4 separate regions of the Homo sapiens genome follow, and regions 1, 2 and 4 are each linked to region 3. The links are contacts of gene promoters, found by promoter capture Hi-C in human tissues and cell types (Jung and others, 2019). All regions are on one chromosome and are shown on one strand. The core of a region is centred on a gene start or on the middle of the fragment in contact, and the rest is flanking DNA. Distances in the headings are between cores, read along the strand shown. Region 1 has its middle 16 kb from the start of DNAJB5. Region 2 overlaps MYORG (myogenesis regulating glycosidase). Region 3 holds the start of IL11RA (interleukin 11 receptor subunit alpha). Region 4 overlaps PHF24 (PHD finger protein 24).

The links. Contacts are between HindIII fragments. The study calls those that stand out against the background at their distance.
Region 1: a contact is called between a fragment that was not itself captured here and the fragment with the promoter of IL11RA in region 3, in 2 of the 25 tissues and cell types used here (dorsolateral prefrontal cortex and mesenchymal stem cells).
Region 2: a contact is called between a fragment that was not itself captured here and the fragment with the promoter of IL11RA in region 3, in 1 of the 25 tissues and cell types used here (dorsolateral prefrontal cortex).
Region 4: a contact is called between a fragment that was not itself captured here and the fragment with the promoter of IL11RA in region 3, in 1 of the 25 tissues and cell types used here (dorsolateral prefrontal cortex).

Annotation. Positions count from the first base shown.
Region 1 is chr9:35,001,923-35,008,995 of GRCh38, reverse strand. It overlaps the pseudogene LOC100420114. Among named protein-coding and RNA genes, the nearest start is that of DNAJB5, 16 kb to the right of the region's middle. RefSeq lists an enhancer at 5,172-5,672. The HindIII fragment of the contact is 4,415 bases long and covers 2,578-6,992 here.
Region 2 is chr9:34,368,316-34,374,778 of GRCh38, reverse strand. MYORG (myogenesis regulating glycosidase) reads left to right here. Exons shown (of 2, transcript NM_020702.5): 2 at 1,773-6,463. The coding sequence starts at 1,836. The coding sequence ends at 3,980. Among named protein-coding and RNA genes, the nearest start is that of MYORG, 5.4 kb to the left of the region's middle. RefSeq lists enhancers at 1,950-2,450, 2,451-2,951. The HindIII fragment of the contact is 4,230 bases long and covers 450-4,679 here.
Region 3 is chr9:34,650,633-34,653,621 of GRCh38, reverse strand. IL11RA (interleukin 11 receptor subunit alpha) reads right to left here and starts at 1,437. Exons shown (of 13, transcript NM_001142784.3): 1 at 1,389-1,437. It overlaps GALT (galactose-1-phosphate uridylyltransferase), which reads right to left. Exons shown (of 11, transcript NM_000155.4): 11 at 2,587-2,989. RefSeq lists a silencer at 1,382-1,481. The HindIII fragment of the contact is 13,062 bases long and covers 1-2,989 here.
Region 4 is chr9:34,971,056-34,977,932 of GRCh38, reverse strand. PHF24 (PHD finger protein 24) reads right to left here. Exons shown (of 8, transcript NM_015297.3): 2 at 6,257-6,638; 3 at 5,402-5,587; 4 at 1,703-1,781; 5 at 1,193-1,398; 6 at 690-850; 7 at 292-387. The coding sequence starts at 6,634. Among named protein-coding and RNA genes, the nearest start is that of DNAJB5-DT, 15 kb to the left of the region's middle. The HindIII fragment of the contact is 7,622 bases long and covers 1-5,413 here.

The sequences.
Region 1 (7,073 bases), core at 3,536-6,035, 350 kb before region 3:
AGCTTGGGCTCAGAGGCCTGACATTCCTGTCTTCTTATATCAATAAGAAAAATAAAACGAAATAGTGGTAAAGTGTTGGGATGGCAAAAATTTTTGGGGGTGGTATGGAGAGATAATGGGCGATGTTTCTCAGGGCTGCTTCGAGCGGGATTAGGGGCGGCATGGGAACCTAGACTGGGAGAGATTAAGCTGAAGATTTTGTGGTAAGGGGTGATATCGTGGGATTGTTAGAAGAAACATTTAGAATTATTGGTGATGGCCTGGATATGGTTTTGTATGAATTGAAAAACTAAACGGAATAAGAGAAGGAGAAAAACAGGTATTAAAGGTCTAAGAATTGGGAGGACTTAGGACATCTAATTAGAGAGTGCCTAAGGAGATTCAGCATAGTCCTGCCAGCAAAGATTATTCATTTACTTTAAGAGTTAAGAGTGGCAGTTTGGGGATAGCACCAATATCAGCTGTGATGGCTTGGAGAAACAGTGTAAACTGGCAGTGTAAACAAGAGCAGGGCATGTATGAGTAGTTGAGAACAGTGAATAGGAGTATGACTAGACAGAAGATAGTAGGGATGACAAGTTTTTTGGGGCACAGTCCAAGTTGGTCTTGTGTCTGGAATGAGACTGGGGCTTAATAAAAAGGAGCATCTATACAAGAGCTCAAATGGGCTGTACCCTGTAGTATTCTGAGGACAGGCCTGAATTCTGAGAACGGAGAGTGGTAAAAGTATTGTCCAGTCCTTTTTAAGTTGGTGGCTGAGTTTGGTGAGGTTTTAAAAGACCATTAGTCCGTTCTACCTTTCCTGAAGACTGAGGACTGTAAGGGATATAAAGGTTTCACTGAATACTAAGAGCCTGAAAAAATGCTTGGCTGATTTGACTAATAAAGGCCAGTCTGCTATTGGACTGTATAGAGGTGGGAAGGCCAAACCGAGGAATTATGTCTGACAGAAGGGAAGAAATGACAGCAGTGGCCTTCTCAGACCTTGTAGGAAAGGCCTTTACTTATCCAGTGAAAGTGTCTACTTAGACTAAGAGGTATTTTTGTTTTCTGACTCGGGGCATGTTGAGTAAAGCCAATTTGCCAGTCCTGGGTAGGGGCAAATCTCCGAGCTTGATGTGTAGGGAAGGGAGGGGGCCTGAATAATCCTTGAGGAGTAGTAGAATAGCAGATAGAACACTGAGAAGTTATTTCCTTGAGGATAGATTGCCATGATGGAAAGGAAATGAGAGGTTCTAAGAAGTGGGCTAGTGGCTTGTACTATAGCATAGCCTGCCTTTGCTGGTGTGTGGCCATTAGGCCTGGTGGAACTGCCATCAATAAACCAAGTGTGATCAGGGTGAGGAACAGGAAAGAAGGAAATATGGGGAAATGGGGTGAATGTCAGGTGGATCAGAGAGATACAGTCATAGGGGACAGGTGTGGTATCAGGAATAATGTGGGAGGCCGGATTGAAGTCTGGGCCAGGAACAGTGGTAATTGTGGGAGACTTAACAAAGAGTGAGTACAGCTGAAGGAGCCGGGGAGCAGAAAATATATGTGTCAGGTGTGAAGAAGAAAATAGATTTTGGAAGTTATGAGAACTGTAGAGAGTGAGTTGAGCATAGTTTGTTATATTAAGGGCCTCTAAAGTATTAGGGCGGCAGCAGCCACTGCACGGAGACAGGATGGCCAGCCTAAAACAGGAAGGTGAAGTTGTTTGGACAAAAAGGCTACAGGACGTGATCCTGGTCCTTATGTAAGAATTCTGACTGCACAGCCCTGCACTTCAGCTGTGGGTAATGAAAAGGGTTGAGATGAGTCAGGGAGAGCTAGGGTGGGGGCAGTCTCTAAAGCTGTCTTCAAGGAATGGAAAGAGGAGTGGGGAAAGGATTTAGAATCTATGGGTCAGCTAGGTTTCTTTTTGTGAGTTTATATAATGGTTTTGTTAGGATGGCAAAACCAGGTATCTAAAGTCAAAAGTATCTAACTATGCCTAGGAAGGAAAGGAGTTGTTGTTTTGTAGAAGGTGTTGGGGTTTGAGAGATCAGCTGGACATGATCAGCAGGGAGAGCACATGTGTTTTTATGAGAATTACGCCGAGATAGGTAACAGATGAGGAAGAAATTTGCGCTTGACTGAAGTAATGGGGGCTGTCTGTGAAGCTTTGTGGCAGTACAGCCCAGGTAATTTGCTGAGCCTGATGGGTGTCAGGGTCAGTCCAAGTGAAAGCGAAGAGAGGCTGGGATGAAGGGTGCAAAGGAATAGTAAAGAAAGCATGTTTGAGATCTAGAACAGAATAATGGGTTGTGGAGGGAGGTATTGAGGATAGGAGAGTATATGGGTTTGGCACCACAGGGTAGATAGGCAAAACAATTTGGTTGGTAAGGTGCAGATCCTGAATTAACCTGTAAGGCTTGTCTGGTTTTTGGACAGGTAAAATGGGGGAATTGTAAGGAGAGTTTATAGGCTTTAAAAGGCCTTGCTGTAACAGGTGAGTGATAACAGGCTTTAATCCTTTTAAAGTGTGCTGTGGGATGGGATATTGGCATTGAGCGGGGTAAGAGTGATTAGGTTTTAATGAGATGGTAAGGGGTGGATGATTGGTTGCTAAGGAGGGAGTAGAGGTGTCTTATACTTGTGGGTTAAGGTGGGGAGATACAAGGGGAGGATGTGAAGGAGGCTTTGAACTGGGGGAAAAGGTGGCAATGAGGTGTGGCTGTAGCCTAGGAACAGTCAGGGAAGCAGATAATTTAGTTAAAGTGTCTCAGCCTAATAGGGGAACTGGGCAGGTGGGGATAACTAAAAAGGAGTGCTTAAAAGAGTATTGTCTAAGTTGGCACCAGAGTTGGGGAGTTTTAAGAGGTTTAGAAGCCTGGCCGCCAATACCTACAACAGTTATGGAGGCAAGGGAAACAGGCCCTTGAAAAGAAGGTAATGTGGAGTGGGTAGCCTCCATATTGATTAAGAAGGGGACGGCTTACCTTCCACTGTAAGAGTTACCTAGAGCATCTGTGATGGTCCTGTAAGCTTCTGAGGTAATCGGGCAGTTTCAGTCTTCAGCTGCTAAGCCGAGAAGATCTGGGAAGGAGTCAGTCAGAGAGCCTTGGGCCAGAGTTCTAGGGGCTGTGGGACTGGTTGCCAGGTGAGTTGAACAGTCTGATTTTCAGTGGGGTCCTGCACAGATGGGACGCGGCTTAGGAGGAATCGTGGGCTGCGGGCATTCCTTGGCCTGGTGGCCAGATTTCTGGCACTTGTAGCAAGCTCCTGGGGGAGGCGGGCCTGGGGGAACGCCTGGCCACTGCGACTTAGGCGTTTGGAAGTTCTTTTGTGCTGGAGATGTGGCTGGGGTTTGTCTCACAGTGGAGGCAAGGAATTGCAACTCAGAAATATATTGCTACTTGGCTGCCTCTACTCTATTATTGTACACCTTGAAGGCCAGGTTAATTAGGTCCTGTTGTGGGGTTTGAGGGCTGGAATTTAATTTTTGGAGTTTTATTTAATGTCGGGAGCAGATTGGGTAATAAAATAAAATGCATATTGAGAATAAGATGGCCTTCTGACCTTTCAGGGTCTAGGGCTGTAAAGCGTCTCAGGGTTGCTGCCAAACGAGCCATGAACTGGGCTGGGTTTCTCATATTTGATGAAAAAGAGCCTAAACGCTAACTGATTTTGGGAGAGGTCGGATAAAGAAAAAGGAGCGTTAACCTTGACTATGCCTTTATATCCAGCCATCTTTTTAAGAGGAAATTGCTGGGCAGGTGGGGGAAGGCTGGTTGAGGAATGAAACTGTAAGCCGGACAAGGTGTGAGGAGGGGAGGTGATAAAAGGATTATAGGGTGGGGGAGCAGAGGCTGAGGAAGAATTGGGACCTGGCTCTGCCTGGTGAGGAGGGGAGAGGTCAGATGGGTCTGTAGAAAAGGAAGATTAGAAAGACTCAGTGATGCTTGGGGTTGGGACTGAGGGGACAGGTGGGAGGGAAAGAAGGAAGATTTGGGACTGGTTGCATTGGGAACAGAGACCAGGGAGGAACCGATGTGTAAAAGAATGCCTGGACGTCAGGCACCTCAGACCATTTGCCTAATTTATGACAAGAATTATTTAGATCTTGTAGGATGGAAAAATTAAAAGTGCCATTTTCTGGCTATTTGGAACTACTGTTGAGTTTGTATTGGGGTCAAGCAGCATTGCAGAAGAAAATAAGATGCTTAGATTTTAGGTCAGGTGAGAGTTGAAGAGGTTTTAAGTTCTTAAGAACACAGGCTAAGGGAGAAGGAGGAGGAATGGAGGGTGGAAGGTTGCCCATAGTGAAGGAAGCAAGCCCAGAGAAAAGAGAGTAGAGACACGGAGGGAAGGGGTTCGGGGGTTCTTACCCTCCAGAAAAGCAGGAAAGGGGTCGGGGCACAGAAATAAGGGGTTGGGGTGCAGAGATAAGAGGTCAGGGTGCGGAAATAAGGGATTGCGGTGTGGAAATAAGGGATCGGGGCACAGAGATAAGAGGTTGGGGTGCGGAAATAAGGGATCGGGGCGCAGAGATAAGAGGTCGGGGCATGGAAATAAGGGATCGGGGCTCAGAGATAAGGGGTCAGGGCGTGGAAATAAGGGATGGGGCACAGAGATAAGAGGTTGGGGCACAGAAATAAGGGATCGGGGGTTCTTGCCCCCAGAAAAGCAGAGAAGGGGTAGAGACACGGAGAGAAGGGGTTGGGGGGTTCTTGCCCCCTAGAAAAGTGGTACTTGCAGCTAAGGGTGAAGGAGAAGGGGTTGGGGGGGTTCTTGCCCTCTAGAAAAGCAGAGGAGTAGAGACATGGAGAGAAGGGGTTGGGGGGTTCTTGCCCCCTAGAAAAGCAGTACTTGCTGCTAAGGGTGAAGGACCAAGGCAGGTGTCCCCATGTGGTCAGACACCTCTGAAACATGGGTGAAAAATCAGAGAGGTGTCCCTGCAATGATTAAACACCAAGGGAAGGCTGCCTTCCTTAGTCCGTGACTGGCGCCAGAGTTTTGGGTCCAAGGATAAAATGTGTCTCCTTTGTCTCTACCAGAAAATGAAAGGAATTGAAAGTAAGAGAGGGAGAGATTGAAGGGTGGCGCCAAGATTGAAAGGAGAAAGTGGTTGAGGGATAGTGAGAGAGGTTGGAGAAGAGAGTAAGAAGAGGCCGCTTACCCGATTTAAAATTGGCGAGATGTTCCTTGGGCTGGTGGGTCTGAGGACCCGAGGTCGTAGGTGGATCTTTTTCACAGAGCAAAGAGCAGGAGGACAGGGGATTGATCTCCCAAGGGAGGTCCTCCAATCTGAGTCACAGCACCAAATTTCATGCGCGTCTGTGTGAAGAGACCACCAAACAGGCTTTGTGTGAGCAACAAGGCTGTTTATTTCACCTAGGTGCAGGCGGGCTGAGTCCGAAAAGAGAGTCAGCCAAGGGAGATAGGGGTGGGGCCGTTTTATAAGATTTGGGTAGGTAAAGGAAAATTACAGTCAAAGGGGGGTTGTTCTCTGGCGGGCAGGGGGGGCGGTCACAAGGTGCTCAGTAGGGGAGCTTTTGAGCCAGGATGAGCCAGGAGAAGGAATTTCACAAGATAATGTCATCAGTTAAGGCAGGAACAGGCCACTTTCATTTCTTTTGTGGTGGAATGTCATCAGTTAAGGCAGGAACCGGCCATCTGGATGTGTACATGCAGGTCACAGGGGATATGATGGCTTAGCTTGGGCTCAGAGGCCTGGCAAGTATAATGTGGCATTTCTGGAAATCAGACTCCCCACCCCGACCCCAAGCTTTGTTGTTGCTATTTGTCATTGTTGTTTGCTTGTGTCGTGACTTTACTAATTGTGTAAATTGTGTATTTTTTTTTGTTGTGTGTGGCCACTGAAGTGTCTGCTTGGCTAGCTTAGCCAAAGACTAGACAGAGGTTTCATTAAGTGATTGCACCCAATGAGTCTACCAGTCTTTGCTGGAGGGGTATATACATAAATTTTTCTGGAACTATTTTAGAGTCACTTGCTGGCATACAGGACAACATAGGCTCCCAACCACTGTGGAGCACCAAAGACAAACCAGAGCAGCTGCACATCCTCAGCAGCTCCCAAATTCCAAAATCTTGGGGGATGGAACCATCTCTCCTGGAGTCTCACCTCTGCACAGTGAGGCCCTGGTGGCTACTGTCCTGACTTCTGGTGATTATTTTGCACTGGAGTCTCTCTTTGTTTTAGTCAGTAGAATCTCTAATGCCCACTTTCACTTTCTGGTTTAAATACAGGCTAAAGGTTCCCCACTGCTCCCCCAGCCCCAAACTCTGTTTCATCCCAGCACCTACCTTGGGCCCACCTTCAATCCTCATTCCTGCTCCTATTACTTTCTTTTTCACCCCAGATTAAGGCTTCTGGGGTATCCTTTCCTAGGACGCAGAATGAGGTATAGTCTGTCACCCCAATTGAAGCTCAACATTTGTTGAGAATTTCTAGTTTTTACTCTGTAATTCAGAGATCTTAGGAAGAATTTTGTCTTCCATCTCCCAACCTTGTTCAGTACAGCCTGGCCTCCCAGGACTATGTGCCATTTTCTATTCTTCCTAGAGAATTTCCTATAAGCAATAATATTTGGAACCAACTAGAGCACTGCTTTTGAAAGAGGCTCATGTAGCACTAGTGGGTCCTGGCCTAGAGGATCCAAGAGCTTTTGGTGCCGATGCAGCCTCAGGGCAAATAACAGACACATCTCAGCTAAGGAACAATCATAGATTCTTACAGCCCTCAAGGTACTTATGGGTCAAAGCAGCAAGGGTCTAAGGAAGAATTGATTGGGCACCCAAGAAGCTTCCATATGAGGGGCCCCCCGCCAAGTTTCAGAATGACCTAGGGAAGGGTCTGAGGCATAGCCTGAGAAAGAGTCCCAAAGGTAACCTATCAAGGTGTTCAGAAAGCTACTCAGTAGGGGTTTTGGGGGCTGATTCATCAGAGGAGACCAAAAAAAATGACTTGTTGAGTCACTCAAGGAATGGGTCAGGAAATGACATAAATGCATTCAAGAGAGAACCTAGACTGGAAGCAACTGGAAAACACCCTGAAAGTTCACTTGGGCAGGTGGCCTATATATGTG
Region 2 (6,463 bases), core at 1,315-3,814, 280 kb after region 3:
AGGTGCACACCACCATGCCTGGCTAATTTTTTTTTTTTTTTGTATTTTTGGTAGAGACAGGGTTTCAACATGTTGCCCAGGCTGGTCTCAAACTCCTGAGCTCAAGAGATCTGCCCTCCTTGGCCTCCCAAAGTGCTAGGATTACAGGCATGAGCACCGTGCATGGCCTCATATCTGGATATTTAGCATATAGTGTGTCAGAGTTTATGTGTGTTAGTGGTAGTGGTGGGTGTCTGATCCCTGGAGAGCAGGTAGGTGGAGGAGGTGCGCTGGGCCAAGCTAGGTGGGTGAAATCTCCTGAAGCAGGTGGCCTAAAGGATTTAGGTTGGGGAAGGAACGAGCTTGGTAATCACAAGATAGGCTTGGCTGGAAATGGAATCAGAATGGTAGCTGAGAACACATCATGCCTGGAGCCTCCAGTGCAAAGCAAACACTTTTAAATTTCATCATGGAAGCAATGAGCAGCTCTCGAAGCTAGGGATAGATATGGTTTGATAAGTGCTTTAGAAAGATCACTATGGTTGCCGTGATCAGAAGGCACTGGTGAGAAAGAAGTTAGAGTCAGAGAGGCCTGTTGGGGGAAGCGTTTGGTAATACAGGGGAGAAGTGACAGTGCCCAAACTATGACAGAAACAGGACAGTGGGTGAAACAGAGCGAGGAAGTAGCTGGCCCACAGATGTGGTGCCAGGAGCAAAGCAGGAAGGCAGGCATGGAAATGGATTTGGTGATGGATGATGGCTGAGAGCAGGGTGAGTTTGAGGGCAAAGAGAAGCAGATGTGAGAAACAACTGGCCCCCCATGCCAGGCTCCTGCCCCAGGCCCTAATGTCTGAACCCAACTCTACCTCCCTCCAAACCAGGCCCTGGGACTAAGTCTGGCTTTGGGTGTCTTCTTCAATCTCCAGACTTCATCAGGCTTTTGACTCAGGATAAAAACACATCCCTGAGCTGTTCTCCCTTCCTCCCTCCTCTCCCCCTCTGGGGACAGGGAAGCTAGCCTACCGCCCTGTTAAAAGTCTCAAGGGGGACTGGGCGAGGTGGCTCACGCCTGTAATGCCAGCACTTCTGGAGGCTGAGGCAGGTGGATCACTTGAGGTCATGAGTTCGAAGCCAGCCTGACCAACATGGTGAAACCCTGTCTCTACCAAAAATACAAAAATTAGCTAGGTGTGGTGGTGTGCGCCTTTAATCCCAGCTACTCGGGAGGTTGAGGCAGGAGACCCGCTTGAACCCAAGAGGCAGAGATTGCAGTGAGCTGAGATCATGCCACTGCACTCCAGTCTGGGTGACAGAGAGAGACTCCATTTCAAAAAAAAAAGTCTCAAGGAGCTGGCTGGACAATACCCCCTCTCCCACCCTGACCATCCACACCTCTAGGAGAGCAGGACTTTTCTAGTTCCTTTCCCGTCTCTTCAGCCCGAACGGCCCCATGTGTGATCTGGGGAGGCCTGGCTTATCCTGTGATCCTGGAAAGCTTCCTGACCCTCTCAGGGTTTGTTTCTCCACTAGGAAAATGAGGATGGGTGCCATCTCCCAGTCACATGGGCCGCTCCCCAGTCACAGAGTCCTAATTTGGGCAAGCATTAGGTCCCATGAGAAAGGGTGGGTTAGGCACAGATTGTCCTGGTAAGGGTCTCACCTTTGCCACTCTTCAAGCCCTCAGGTTCCAGTATTCATCTTCCCAAAGTATACACCTCCTCTTAGCTTGCGGCAGCAAATGGAAATATCATGGGATGAGATAGCTCAGTTCCATCTCTGTCTCCTCCTTTCAGAGCAGGTTGAGATGAACTCAGTCAGATGGCCCCACGGCCCGCTCCTTTCTTAGCAGCCCACTAATGCTCCAGAACCCTCAGGAGAAGAGCCAGGCCTACCCCCGCCGCCGCCGGCCTGGCTGCTACGCATACCGTCAGAACCCCGAGGCCATCGCAGCCGCAGCTATGTACACCTTCCTGCCCGACAACTTCTCACCTGCCAAGCCCAAGCCTTCCAAAGACCTGAAGCCGCTGCTGGGCTCCGCGGTTCTGGGGCTGCTGCTTGTGCTGGCCGCGGTGGTGGCCTGGTGCTACTACAGCGTCTCCCTACGCAAGGCGGAGCGACTTCGCGCGGAGCTGCTGGACCTGAAAGCTGGCGGCTTCTCCATCCGCAATCAGAAGGGAGAGCAGGTCTTCCGCCTGGCCTTCCGCTCCGGCGCGCTGGACCTTGACTCCTGCAGCCGCGATGGCGCCCTGCTGGGCTGCTCGCTCACGGCCGACGGGCTGCCGCTGCACTTCTTCATCCAGACTGTGCGGCCCAAGGACACGGTCATGTGCTACCGCGTGCGCTGGGAGGAGGCAGCGCCGGGCCGGGCCGTGGAGCACGCCATGTTCTTGGGCGACGCGGCGGCCCACTGGTATGGTGGCGCCGAGATGAGGACGCAACACTGGCCCATCCGCCTGGATGGCCAGCAGGAGCCCCAGCCGTTCGTCACCAGCGATGTCTACTCCTCCGACGCCGCGTTTGGGGGCATCCTCGAGCGCTACTGGCTATCTTCGCGCGCGGCCGCCATCAAAGTCAATGACTCAGTGCCCTTCCACCTGGGCTGGAACAGCACGGAGCGCTCGCTGCGGCTTCAGGCGCGCTACCACGACACGCCCTACAAGCCACCCGCCGGCCGCGCCGCAGCGCCAGAGCTGAGCTACCGAGTGTGCGTGGGCTCAGACGTCACCTCCATCCACAAGTACATGGTGCGTCGCTACTTCAACAAGCCGTCAAGGGTGCCAGCACCCGAGGCCTTCCGAGACCCCATTTGGTCCACATGGGCGCTGTACGGGCGCGCCGTGGACCAGGACAAGGTGCTGCGTTTTGCCCAACAGATCCGCCTGCACCACTTCAACAGCAGCCACCTGGAAATCGACGACATGTACACACCTGCTTATGGCGACTTCGACTTCGATGAGGTCAAATTCCCCAACGCCAGCGACATGTTCCGCCGCCTGCGCGACGCCGGCTTCCGCGTCACGCTCTGGGTGCACCCTTTTGTCAACTACAACTCGTCGCGCTTCGGCGAGGGCGTGGAGCGCGAGCTGTTCGTGCGCGAACCCACGGGCCGGTTACCTGCGCTGGTGCGCTGGTGGAACGGCATCGGCGCGGTGCTAGACTTCACGCACCCAAAGGCCCGCGACTGGTTCCAGGGACACCTGCGGCGGCTGCGCTCTCGCTACTCCGTGGCTTCCTTCAAGTTCGACGCGGGCGAGGTCAGCTACCTGCCGCGGGACTTCAGCACCTACCGGCCGCTGCCGGACCCCAGCGTCTGGAGCCGGCGCTACACTGAGATGGCGCTGCCCTTCTTCTCGCTGGCGGAGGTGCGCGTAGGCTACCAGTCACAGAACATCTCCTGCTTCTTCCGCCTGGTGGATCGCGACTCTGTGTGGGGCTACGACCTGGGGTTGCGCTCACTCATCCCCGCGGTGCTCACCGTCAGCATGCTGGGCTACCCATTCATCCTACCCGATATGGTGGGCGGCAACGCCGTGCCCCAGCGGACAGCCGGCGGCGATGTGCCCGAGCGCGAGCTCTACATTCGCTGGCTGGAAGTGGCCGCCTTTATGCCGGCCATGCAGTTCTCTATCCCGCCCTGGCGCTACGACGCGGAAGTGGTGGCCATCGCGCAGAAGTTCGCCGCCCTGCGGGCCTCGCTTGTGGCACCGCTGTTGCTTGAGCTGGCGGGCGAGGTCACCGACACGGGTGACCCTATCGTGCGCCCCCTTTGGTGGATTGCGCCCGGCGACGAGACAGCTCACCGTATCGACTCGCAGTTCCTTATTGGGGACACGCTGCTTGTGGCCCCGGTGCTGGAGCCAGGCAAGCAGGAGCGCGACGTCTATTTGCCCGCCGGCAAGTGGCGCAGCTACAAGGGTGAGCTTTTCGACAAGACGCCGGTGCTGCTCACCGATTACCCGGTCGACCTGGATGAGATCGCCTACTTTACCTGGGCGTCCTGACCCAGCCCAGGGCCCGGTAACCGCAAAGCCCCCAGTCTTCATGCAGACCTTGAACCCTCCGTCACACCCGCACCATGTACTCCCAGGAACCTCCCACCTCTATACCACCCATTAAGTGGCTGCTGACTTAAATGTGCTGGAACCAGCTGCTGAAGGTGGGGCCTAGGGAGGGGGCACTGAAGCAATCTCCTGCTCCAACGCACAATCCTTACTGTGCCCTTTCCACCCCCACACTCACACCAATCTGCAGAAACCTCTTCCCTGGGGTGGAAGCCAGAGAGCTTAGAGGAAAAAGGTCAGCTCTCTTCCTGTTATACATGGTTATACATGGTTGGGGTTTAAAAGCACAAAGAGAAACCTCCCCCTCCTGGCTTTCGTGGCCATCTTTGTCCATCTTAGGTGGGGACTTGATCTTATTTAAGGTCTCCAAATAGCCCCCACCACACTTAGAACGTGTGTTTTCTTAGTGTTAGAAGCCAGGCCCTGAGTCCCCAGCACTCACCTGAACTGTGGCTGATTTGGTCCCAGTCCAGCTGGGGAGGTGTTTGGCTGACAAGGAGGCAAGAGATCCCCTCCCAGGGAACAGGAGGACTGGGCTTAGCACAGAGCCATCATCATGTTCCCAATTTGTGAAGAGACTCCTAACACTGCACTAACCCATTTGTGTACATACATGGGCTCAGCCCTGGGCCAAATGTGCCTGATGGGAACAGACTTGCAGGGCCATGCAGGCCAGACTTCGTGCCTTAACTGAAGAGTGTGCGTGTGTGTGTGTGAGAGAGAGAGAGAGAGAGAAACACGCATCATGGGTCCCTGATCTATGAAATGAACACAACCTCTCTGAGGCTGGATGATCTGGAGGAAGGGGGCATGGAGCAAATTTGAGGCTCTGATTGCTGAGCCAGCCTCCTCCCAGGCGGTTTCCCCAGGACTCTCGTAGGAAATAAATAGCCCTTTCAAGATTCCTCAGCTGCCTCACCCCCTGCACATGTGCCTGGGGTGTGGCCTAGAAGGGAGTGATGTTCTTACTCTGGTGGTCTGTGCTTCTGAACACAGGCTACATGCACACACTGACAACTACCAATAAACAGACAGGGGAAGGTCTTTCATCTCAGCCATTTTCTCTTCCCCCCGCCCCCCCTTAGATGGAGTCTTGCTCTGTCACCCAGGTTGGAGTGCAGTGGCACAATCAGCTCACTGCAACCCCTCCTCCTAGGTTCAAGCGATTGAGTAGCTGAGATTACAGGCATGCATCACTATGCCTGGCTTTTTGTATTTTTTAGTAGAGATGGGGTTTACCATGTTGGCCAGGCTAGTCTCAAACTCCTGACCTAGTGATGCACCCACCTTGGCCTCCCAAAGTGTTGGGATTACAGGCATGAGCCACCACGCCAGCCATTTTCTCTTTCTAAGAAGAGCAACCTCAGCCGGAGTGAGTTTTTTCTGACTTTGCAGCTGAGTCTGGAGAAAAGTGGCATGCCAGAGCGGGTCGGTGGGAAACAGGGTGAACTTTAGCTTCCATCAACAGCTCTGGTAGCAAAACCAGTCCCCTACCCCCTAGAGAATGCATCCGTTTCCCCACCTGATATGGTTTGGCTGTGTCCCCACCTAAAACTCATCTTGAATTGTAGCTCCCATAATTGCCATGTGTTGTGGGAAGGACCCAGTGGGAGATAATTGAAATATGGGGGCAGTTTCCGCCATACTGTTCTGGTGATAGTGAATAGATCTCATGAGAGCTGATGATTTTATAAGAGGTTTCCCCTTTTGCTTAGTTCTCATTCTCTCTTGCCTGCCGCCATGTAAGACGTGCCTTTCTGTCATGCTTGTGAGGCCTCCCCAGCCACGTGGAGCTGTGAGTTCATTAAACCTCTTTTTCTTTATAAATTACCCAGTCTTGGTTATGTCTTTATCAGCACTGTGAAAATGAACCTATACAGTAAATTGGTACCAGTAGAGTGGGGCGCTGCTGTAAATACCCAAAAATGTGGAAGCAACTTTGGAACTGGGTAACAGGCAGAGGTTGGAACAGTTTGGAGGGATCAGAAGACAGGAAAATGTGGGAAAGTTTGGGACTTCCTAGAGACTTGTTAAATGGCTTTGACCAAAATGCTGATAATGATTGGGACATGAAATCCAGGCTGAGTTGGTCTCAGATAGCGATGAGGAACTTGTTTGGTACTGGAGTAAAGGTGACTCTTGCTATATTTTAGCAAAGAGACTGGCTGCATTTTGCCCCTGCCCTAGAGATTTGTGGAACTTTGAACTCGAGGGAGATGATTTAGGGTATCTGGCAGAAGAAATTTCTAAGCAGCAAAGCATTCATGAGGTGACTTGGGTGCTGTTAAAAGCATTCAGTTTTAAAAGGGAAACAGACTATAAAAGTTTGGAAAATTTGCAGCCTGATGATGAGATAGAAAAGAAAAACCCATTTTCTGAGGATAAATTCAAGCCCCCTGCAGAAATTTGCATAAGTAACAAGG
Region 3 (2,989 bases), core at 188-2,687:
GAGGCACAGTTAACAAAAGGGCATGCCTTTGAACACACGTGGACACAATCAAATGAAAAATCAGATACAAACTCCCCCTCTTTTCACTCCTCACCAAATGTTTCCTTAGGGTACAGCTGGCTGTGCTTCCAGGGGAAGGGAGGCCCCAGGTTGGGGGATATAAGGAGAGGCCAAAGAGTCCAGTTCCCCCTCCCCTGGAAGTTCCAGCCATTTCTCACCTCCCCCTCCATTCTTTGGGCCCCAGCACCAGGAAATGCCTTTGGTCCCTTGGTGCCAGATACACAAGACCCACAGTTACCCTCAGACTCATACACTCTCACATGCGGTCACTCACAGTCACACGGGCACAGCCACACCGCCTCAGACTCAGACACACTTACACATATTCATACACTCACGCAGTCACACACGCACACAGCCCCTACCAGGGCTCACAGCACCGCCTAAAAGCAACTCTTCATCATGGTCTAAGCCCCCTCTCTCAGGGAGCTCTTAGCCGGGGCAGACCCGCATCTCATCACTGTTACAGGCCCCCAACTAGCCAGAGATCAAGATCAGCAGGGAAGGCAGGCATAGGGGCACAGAGAGAGACAGAGAGAAAGGAAAGGCAAAACTGGAAATGCACCCACACAGAGAGACCAGGGGAACAAAGCTGTGAAGAAACACACAGAGGTATCTCTAGTAAGACAGCAATAGGGACAGAAAACGGCACGTAAGGGAAACTGAGCCAAGCAGGGAAACAGAAAATAAGGAGCAGTAGACCTGATGCTGGGGATTCTTGAGCAGAGGAAGGAGGGGAAGCCACGTGTGTTGTGGGTGTGTCTGTCAATGCTGGACACTTAAGAGAAAGGTCAGTCCCATGGGCTCTTGAGGTAGGTCCCCCAATACATGAATACAGCTGTACTCCCACACGGTTTAAGTTAGGACCCAGGACACACACATAGTCACAAACCTCACTTTTGCTCTGCTACTGCTGAAGTCACACATTGGCACACACAAAGCCAGCCACCCACTCTCACGCTGGCAGACATGGTCTCAAACCCCACAGAGACCTTCCCAAAACACATTCCCTCATGTGGTCACAGTCCCTCTCACACAAACACACAACCCAGTCCCACCAAAAATGTGCATTGACAGATACACACATAATCCCACACTTGCACAGCCACATGCACCTCCAGCTCCATGCACACTGACACACGCAGTCACATTAGCTGACAGCTGCACCAAGTGACACTCAGAATCGCACACAATGATACTGTCACACAGACACAGCCTCACAGGCACATACACACTGACAGTCGTTAGTCACTCCCGGCCTTTCAGATCATACATCACCCTGCCCCGCCCACTCCTGACAAGACTTTGGCGTCTACACCAGGCCTCACCTTCCGCGGCCGCTGCCGCCAGCGCCCTCTGCCCTCGCCCTCGCCCTCTGCCCCGGCCTCTACTCCCTCCCGCCCTGGGCCCCCGCAGCGGGGGTGGCTCCGCCCAGGCGCCAATGGAAGGAGAGGAGTGAAATAGGGGGGCTCCTGGCCCATTGGAGACTCCAACTGCCAATCACCTCCACCCCCACCTCCGCCGGACACTTCCTGTCCCGTCCCGGACTGAAGAGGCTGCTTGGGACAGAGTCTGGAGCTGGATTCCTGGGTCTCCGCCTGAAGGCCTATCCACCCTGGAACAGCAGGACTGGAAACAAGAGCCACTGGCCAGGTGATTGGAGAAGCTGAAGGTGCCCCTGACTCCAGATAAGATAAAGAAGAAGGAGGGCTGTGTAGGGCAGTGGTTCTCAAACTTTGCTGGATATTGTGGTTTGAAAACTGCAAAACCCCACCCCATACCAATTAAATCAGAGTCTCTGGAGGTTGGACCTAGGCACCAGTATTGTTTAAAACTTCCCAGATGATTCCAAAATGCAGCCAAATCAGAGGTGTAAGGTGTGTCGGGTATATGTATGCCTCAAGAAACCAGCCACCCACTCAGGGTTCTCATCTACTCCCCAGTCATGGGAAGCTCGAGGGAAATGTGTGCATACTATGTCTATCAGATCTTCCAGACCAGGGCAACACTCCCAAGTTCCAGGTACTTCCCCTCCAGGATCTCAGGGAAGAAAAACCCTGGTCTGGAAGGCAGGCAGCCAAGTTTCTCCTGGGCCAGATTCAGTCACTGTCCAGCCTTAGTGTGATTTCCCCACCCACAGGCTTGGTTCCCCTGGGGAAAGAACGAAGGCAAAAACCATTCTGGCCATCCCTGCATCATTCACAATGCCTGCCTTCGCCTTAAAATTTGGAGGACACCAGTGGCATCAGGTCTCCTGTGTTGCATAGACTGTTGTTCCCACAGCGTTGCCAGGGAAACAGGTCCAGAGGGGACTGAATAGACCCCAGGTCACTCTGAGAGCCATACCTTCCTTCCAGGCCCTAGGGTTCCTAACTCTAGCAGTCCCTTCTCTGTCAGAGCTGTTTCTGTTTGTGCAATGATTGGGGCACAAGGGCAGCAGAAGTATATGGTGCCCGCACATGTGAGAGTCTGGAGGAGCCAAGGACACAAAGCCACGTACACGCTCCCTACACACTCCCTACCCGCCCCTTTAGCCCCTGTGGGCTGGAGCAGAGCCAAGCTGCAGCCACTCACAAAGCCAGGGTTCTGGCCAGCAGCCCAGGATCTGGCCACTGACCACTGGGATCAGGATCCAGCTCACCCGCTCCCCATCAAACCCTCAGGCCCAGGCTTGGAGCTGACACCCTAGGGGTGGTGGCAAAGGGGGCTCTGGCCTTCCCAAAGCCTCAGCCACAACCAAGACACAAGATTTTAAAACAGTTTCCTAAACTGGGAATGCTGTCATTACACCAAGAGTAAGAGAATCTATAGGCTAGATATAATACTGAATATTAATTTTGTTCAGAAATTTGGGGTAGATTTTTGCATCAAGATTTTACACATCTGTAGACAAAGAAAAGTTGTAGCTGGAGCTATGCCTTTAGCTTTT
Region 4 (6,877 bases), core at 353-2,852, 320 kb before region 3:
AGGCTGGTTTGAAGACGCGTGAGCCCTGATCCCAGGGGCAGCATGGCTTGAGCTACACAAAACTCAGGGAAGCTTGGCTCATGCCTGACCTGGCTATGGCTGGCTGTGCTACCAGGCCAACAGACCAGCTGGCTGGTCCTATAGACTTGGGTCAAATGTGCACTCTTGGAGCCTGGTTTCTTGGGTGGGCGCTTGCTGTTTTGGAGTGGGAGTGGGTAATGCCCTCTCTTACTTGTGTGTTTTGTGGGGGTTCAGAGGGTACAAATGGCCAGGTGAGGAGGTCCTACTCACCTGGACTCCTGCTCTGTGGGCAGCAGGGTCTTGTCCTGACTCTTGCTGCTGCTGCTGGCTGGGCTGCTATCTGCGATGGGACCCACATGGCTGATGCTGCTGGGCATGAGGACACGTGGTTAGGAGTGGGATAGTGAAATGCCTGCCCCCTCCCAAACTCTGGTAAGCCCAAGGCTCTGGACATGCTCATCCAGGCTCTTCTGACATGTGGCAACACCGAGTTGAAGGCAGAGGCTGTCCTATGCCCTGGCCCGTAGGCATCACCATCCTCTACCTAATGCACAGGAGGCTCCTCTCTCGGCTGTTGGCAGGGGGAGCAGGGAGGTATGGAAGGGCCACTGGCATGGAAAAGGGAGGAGGAGAGGCTGAGTGGGGACCAGGACTGGTAAGGAGCAGACCTGACACTGCAGGAAGGAGCCTCTGGGAACCGTTTGCAAAACCAAGAGTGCTGGGCCCGGCGGCACTCTGCCTCACTGACGGTGCTCCCACTGCCCCGAGCCAGGAAGGCGGCTCGGGCTCGCTCCCGCTCCTTCACTGTCAGAAGCCTCAACAGAGAGTTCTGGGGAAGAAGAGACAAGATCTTAGAGGTGAAGATATCTTGTAAACTGCCAAGCCATAGAGAATCCTATCTCCATTACCACCTTTGCAACCTCCCTTAGAAGCTGCCCAGAGCCCTTCTGGAGGCATCAGCACTTCCAGTGCGGCCCAGGGCAGATCAGTCTTCCTCACGCAGTTTCCTCAGCCTGGGCACCAGATCATCTGTCACTGGATGGAACCTGAGCCCATTCCTGATACTTGTCCCTGCTTGAGCAGGACCCAGTGCTCCCCCAATCTGCCCAGCGTGCCTCCCAGGCCCTTGTCACCCAGTATCCCAGGAACATTTGCCCCAACTGGCCCTCACCTGGGGACGCAACTGCTGCAGAAGCAGGAGGGACTCATGGGACAAGAAGTCAGGCCACTCTATGTGGCCTCGATGTTCAGGGTCCAGGGCAGCAAACTGGCGGGCCGCCTGCTCTTCTTGCTCCTCACTCAGGGCCCTGTCACGGTCCCCCCGCTTGGCTGCTTGGTGGCGGTAACGCAGAAAGTCCTCCAGTGTCAGGGAGCAATCTGTGGGAGGCACCCCGTGCTAGCCATGCCCATCCTTCCTCAGCCTCAGGGCACCTCCATCACCTCCAGGGCACCCTCGGGGCCCCCAAACCCACAGCTCTTGCTAAGTCTCTGCCTCCCATGGCCAGGGTCACCCAGGCTGTGACAGGGATAGGTGACTCTGCTGGCCAACAACTCAGGAACAAGGACTCATTTACCCTCTACCCACTAAATATGGAACACTCCTTTCATGGTTCATTCTAGAAAGCCTGAAGGAGAAATCTGCCCGGCCCCTCTCCATCCATGCAGCACCACCCAACCTTACCAGGGATGACTTTACACCGCTGAAAGGTCTCCGTGAGGCTATACATTTCCTCCTCAGTAAGCAGCAAGTTGATGTTGTCCTGAAAATAAGGAAGAGCTGAGTCGGTGGCCATACAGGCCAGTAAGAAAGGCCAGGGTCAAGGGGGCTAGAAATAGAATTTCAACTGGAAAGCAGTTCCAAGATCATCTAATCCCAGCCTCCTATTCACAATCAATGAGATTGAGGCCCCAGAGAGGAGAAAGGACTTGGCCAGAGTTGTCTTTACTCTGGGGCAGAATCTTCCCCAAGAACCCAGATATCCTGACTCCAGCACTGAGTCCCTTTACTAAAACAGTGGTTTTCTCCTCTGAGCTAACCTAGGGATTTCTTGGAAGTGCCTTAGGAAGCTGCTGCAGGGAATAAGGGGGCTAGTGAGTAGGCAGGTTGTGAATCCCTATCTCCATCAAGCAGAGCGGCTCCATCTCCATCCCTTTTATCTACTTGGCTTCTGTGTTAGGCTGTGCTAAAAATGTATTTTAGTTAAAAAAAAAAAAAGTTTAATCCTAGCTCTGCTCCAAGTGGGTTGTATCACTTTAAATAACCCCAGAATGGTTTTAAAAGATGCCATTATTACAAGGCTCCTAAAGCCAAATGAGTTTTTTTGTAGTGCCACAGAAGTTTTAATTCCAAAGGAGCACCAATATCTTATTGTGTTGACGTTACCATACAGTCTTTAAACTATCAAAGATCCTTTCTAGTACAAGGTCATTTTCTTCCTCTGAGATACCCGCAAAGTACAAGAGCAGATATTTCATGAGTATTCATACGTGGATTTCATAAAGAACTCAAACCATTCTTTTTCTTCCATAACACTTTTTAAAAACTAATATATAATAGTTGTATTTTTCTTTCAAACCATACTTTCAATAAACACCTACTGAGCACCTAGTAAACACTGGGCGCCACAGTGGTGTGTAACACTGTGAGATGTTCAGTGTGGCTGAGGTTTGGAGTACATGTGAGTGTGTGTGTGAGGGAAGGAGGGGGCCTACTATGAAGTACCTCCAATACCCTTTATCGAGCCCCTCAAATTAGGCCTTTATTCTGAGGGCAAAAGGGAGCCACCAAAGGGTTTTCAAGTGGGGAGTGCCGTGGTCAGATCTCTGGCTGCTGTGTGGAAGATGGATTAGAGCGGCAGAGTCTGGAGGTGTGGAGAGCAGTTGGGGGCTGCCGCAACAGTCCAGGCAAGAAATGATGAGCAGCTAAACTGAGACATGAGAATGAAGAAGGGAAGAGAGATATTAGAGGCAGCATCATCAGGACCTGATGACTCACTGGATGTGAGGCATGAGGGAGAGATTGAACTGGAATTGGTAACTGGGGCATGGTATTACTATTCACAGAGATAAGGAGTGGAGGAAGAGCAGGTTTGGGGGCAAAGATGAGTTCATTTTGGGGCATGATGAGTGTGAAGTACTTGTGAGATATCAAGGTGGATAAGTGCAAGAGACAGGAAATTTAGGTCTGGACACACAGAAATAGGAGTCATTAGTGTTTAGATGGTGGCTGTAGATGAAGTCACCAAAGAGGGCGCAGTGAGAAAAGAAGAGTATTAAACAACAGAACCCTGAGAAACAGGACTGAGACAAGAAACTAACAAAGGGCATTGAGAAAGAATGGTCAGAGACTAAGGCTGGAAGAGCATCAGTAGAGAAGAAGGTACTGGATACCAAGCAAAGACAGCTGCAGAATGTGGGAGGTAATGTTAACGGTGGTTACACCACTGAGGTGGGATTTTATTGACTTTCTATTTTCTCTCATTTCCATATCTTATGCAATAATTCTCATAAAAATACTTAAATCCTAAAGAAAAGAGAGAGGAATAAAGAAGTAATAAATACTTCAGAGAGATCAAGTAAGAAGATGCCTCAGAAAAGGTCAGTGGACTTGACAATTAGGAGGTGACTGGTGACCTTAGGAAGCAACAGTTCTGCAGAATGATGGATGCAGATGTCAGATTATATGATAGGTGGTTGAAAAACCATAGGAGATGGTGAAATTCTTTTAAGAAGTTTGGCTGTGGGGCCAGGTGCAATGGCTTGTGCCTGTAGTCCCAGCTACTGAGGAAGCTGAGGCAGGAGGATTGCTTAGGTCTAGGAGTTCAAGGCTGCAGTGCTACGATCGCACCACTGCACTTCAGCCAGGTGACACAGTGAGACCCTGTCTCATAAAAAGAAAAAAAAGAAGAAGAAGATTTGTTGGCTGTGAAGGGAAGGAAAGAAAGGAGAGGTACTTGGAAGGAGGCTCTGTAAAAAGCCCAGTGGAGCATGGTGGCAATGATGGTAGGACTGTGTCAGGAAGCTGGGGAGGGAGCAGTGTGTTCCTGGGGGTTAGGGAGGTGACCCCTTCACCCCAGTCCTATAGCAGCAGCACACCGCAAAGCAGAGTGGCCGAGATGAAAGGATGGCATTTGGAAGGGGTGACAGGCACTAGAGAAGGTCGCCGGTACAGCAGGGTCTGCTGCAGTGTACTCCATGGGGACAGGTGTTTCAGTGGCTGAAAATAGCTGTTCCATAACAAGCCATAGAGGAAGAGTTATTTGTTAGAAAGTGGCACATCTCTGCTTTCGTCTAAGCAGCAGGAAGAAGGGGGGATCAGCAGGTGCTCCTCACTCTGAAATCAATAAACAATGACGATATCTGCAGGACAACAGATCAATAAGGCAAGACTTGAACTCTATTCAGGTGTAGTGAGAAATGGATATAAATCTGGCTTTCAATGGAAACCTTAGACTCTGTCCTTCATTAAAAGTTAGAAGGCATTTATATATAATTTGCGAAGTTCTGAATCAATAGAGCTTTGTCATTTAATTCACATAATAACCACTTCAAAGAGGAAGAGCAAATGCTTATGAGTCAGGTGGCAGGCTGAGTGAGGATCTCAGGCCTAGGAAGTTTTCCTGTGATAGAATCTACCCCTACTGGAAGCAAGCTGGTTAGGATCTCAGGTTAGTTTTCATATGGATACAATGAATGACAACTATAGACTATTAGAGAAAGAACTGCTCCAAGCAGAATTACTTTTGAGTAATTAGGCCCCAGTCAATCTCCTAGCTCAGAGGTTCTCTACCGGGGGTGATTTTGCTACCTTCACATTGAGATGTATGCTACCGGCATCTAGGGGATTAAGGCCAGGGTGCCGCTAAACATCCTACAATGCACTTGGCCCCTCAAACAAGTAACTAGCCAGCCTAAAATGTACTGAGGTTGAGAAACCCCATCCTAGCTCTAGGTCTCTTGTATGTACCATTGGAAAAATCTTTTTTTTTTTTTTTTTTTCGAGACAGAGTCTCGCTCTGTCGCCAGGCTGGAGTGCAGTGGCGCGATTTCGGCTCGCTGCAACCTCCGCCTCCTGGGTTTAAGTGATTCTCCTACCTCAGCCTCCCGAGTAGCTGGGACTACAGGCGCGTGCCACCACGCCCAGCTAATTTTTGTATTTTTAGTAGAGATGGGGTTTCACCATGTTGGCCAGGATGGTCTCAATCTCTTGACCTCGTGATCTTCCGGCACTGGCCTCCCAAAGTGCTGGGATTACAGGCATGAGCCACCGCGCCCAGCCCATTGGAAAATTCTTTAGGTCACTGCCTAAAATCAAGTGTTCTAAGACCGGGCCTCCAGGAAAAGTGCCAAGTCCTCTGCTGTCCCTGCAGTCCAGACTTACACAGTAGTGGCAGCTCCAGCCTGTTTCTGTGTGGGCCATCTCCGTCACCTCCGCTGCACTGTCTCCTTGGATGTAGCCCATGCGGCGCAGGCAGCCATCATGGAAAACCCTGGTGCAGACCCTGCACGGGAAGAGGCTCTCAGCTGTCCAGACCTCACAAACATCACACATCTCATCGTTGACAACCTGCAGAAAGATGGCAGGAGGAAACAGGGATGTGTAAATGTAGGCAGCAAGATTCCAAGGCCACTAAGCACAGAGCTACCTGCATGGGGCTGAGTCTTCCCAGATTAGCCTAGAGGAACAGCCCCAACTGAAGCCATTGTTGAGGTTTTCTTTCTGGACGACAAGAACCAGGAGGTCCTTCCAGCTGCTCATGTCTTTGTGACCATGTTTATGAACAGGGAGCTACTAGCACTTTTAGAAAGAACAATCTGTTGTGAGAGATTGTTCCAGGCATTGCAGGACATTTATCATCCCTGCTTTTCTTGGTACCAAACACCAGTAGCCACCTGGTGTTGTGACCTCCCCAAACTCCTCCCTCCCAAATTTCCAATTGCCTCCCGCAGGGTGTAGTACTATCCATGGTTGAAAACCCATGGCAGCGGGGAAGAGGGGGAGGTTCGACAGAAGACCTGCCACAGCATCATTCTTTATCATCCATTGCCCCAAGCCTTTCACTAAGATGAATCCAGGATATAACAAACATTTTATTCTTACAGAAGAAATTCAAAGATTTTTTTGGACTCAGCTCCATTTTTCCGGTTTTGAGGATCACCTTACCCACATCCATCTTCCCTGTCCTGCTCCCTGATGCACTAAGACTTGAGGATCCTGTCCTAACTGGATACTCACAGGCTCTCTGGGCTCCAGGCAGATTTCTGGAGGTTTGTCATCATCCAGCTTCCGGGTGGGGCGGATGAACGCAGGGGGTGTGAATCGACTTGTCCTGTCAAACTCCTCAGGCTCCACGCCGCGCCCATCTCGGAGCCGCTCCCAGGCTGCGCGGCCGGCACTACTCTCTTCCTGGACCACCGAGGTTCCTGCTTCTGCTTCCTTCTCCTCCTGTACCTCCTGGACGGAGCCCTCTACAGTGCCACGGCGGGACCCTGGCAGCTCACCTGTGCGTCGGATGGAAGGCCTGTCCCGCAGCCCATCCTTGAAAGCAGACACAGCCAGACTCACCTTCTGCACCTGCTCCACTGTCTGCCGCTTGGACATCAACACCCCCATGGCTCTGTGGACAAAAAGCAGAGGGGCACAGGTTCAGCCAATGGCTGAGGATGTCAGGCTAATCAGTTTCAACCTAAGTGGCAAGGGCTATTAAACAGTTTCTCCCTCTTCTAGAACATGGTGGGGGTGGAGACAGCACATGTTAAGGATCAGAAGATGTTGGTTCTACTTCTTTCCTAAATTTTATTTATTTATTTATTTAATTTATTTATTAGAGATGAGGTCTTACTATGTTGCCCAGGC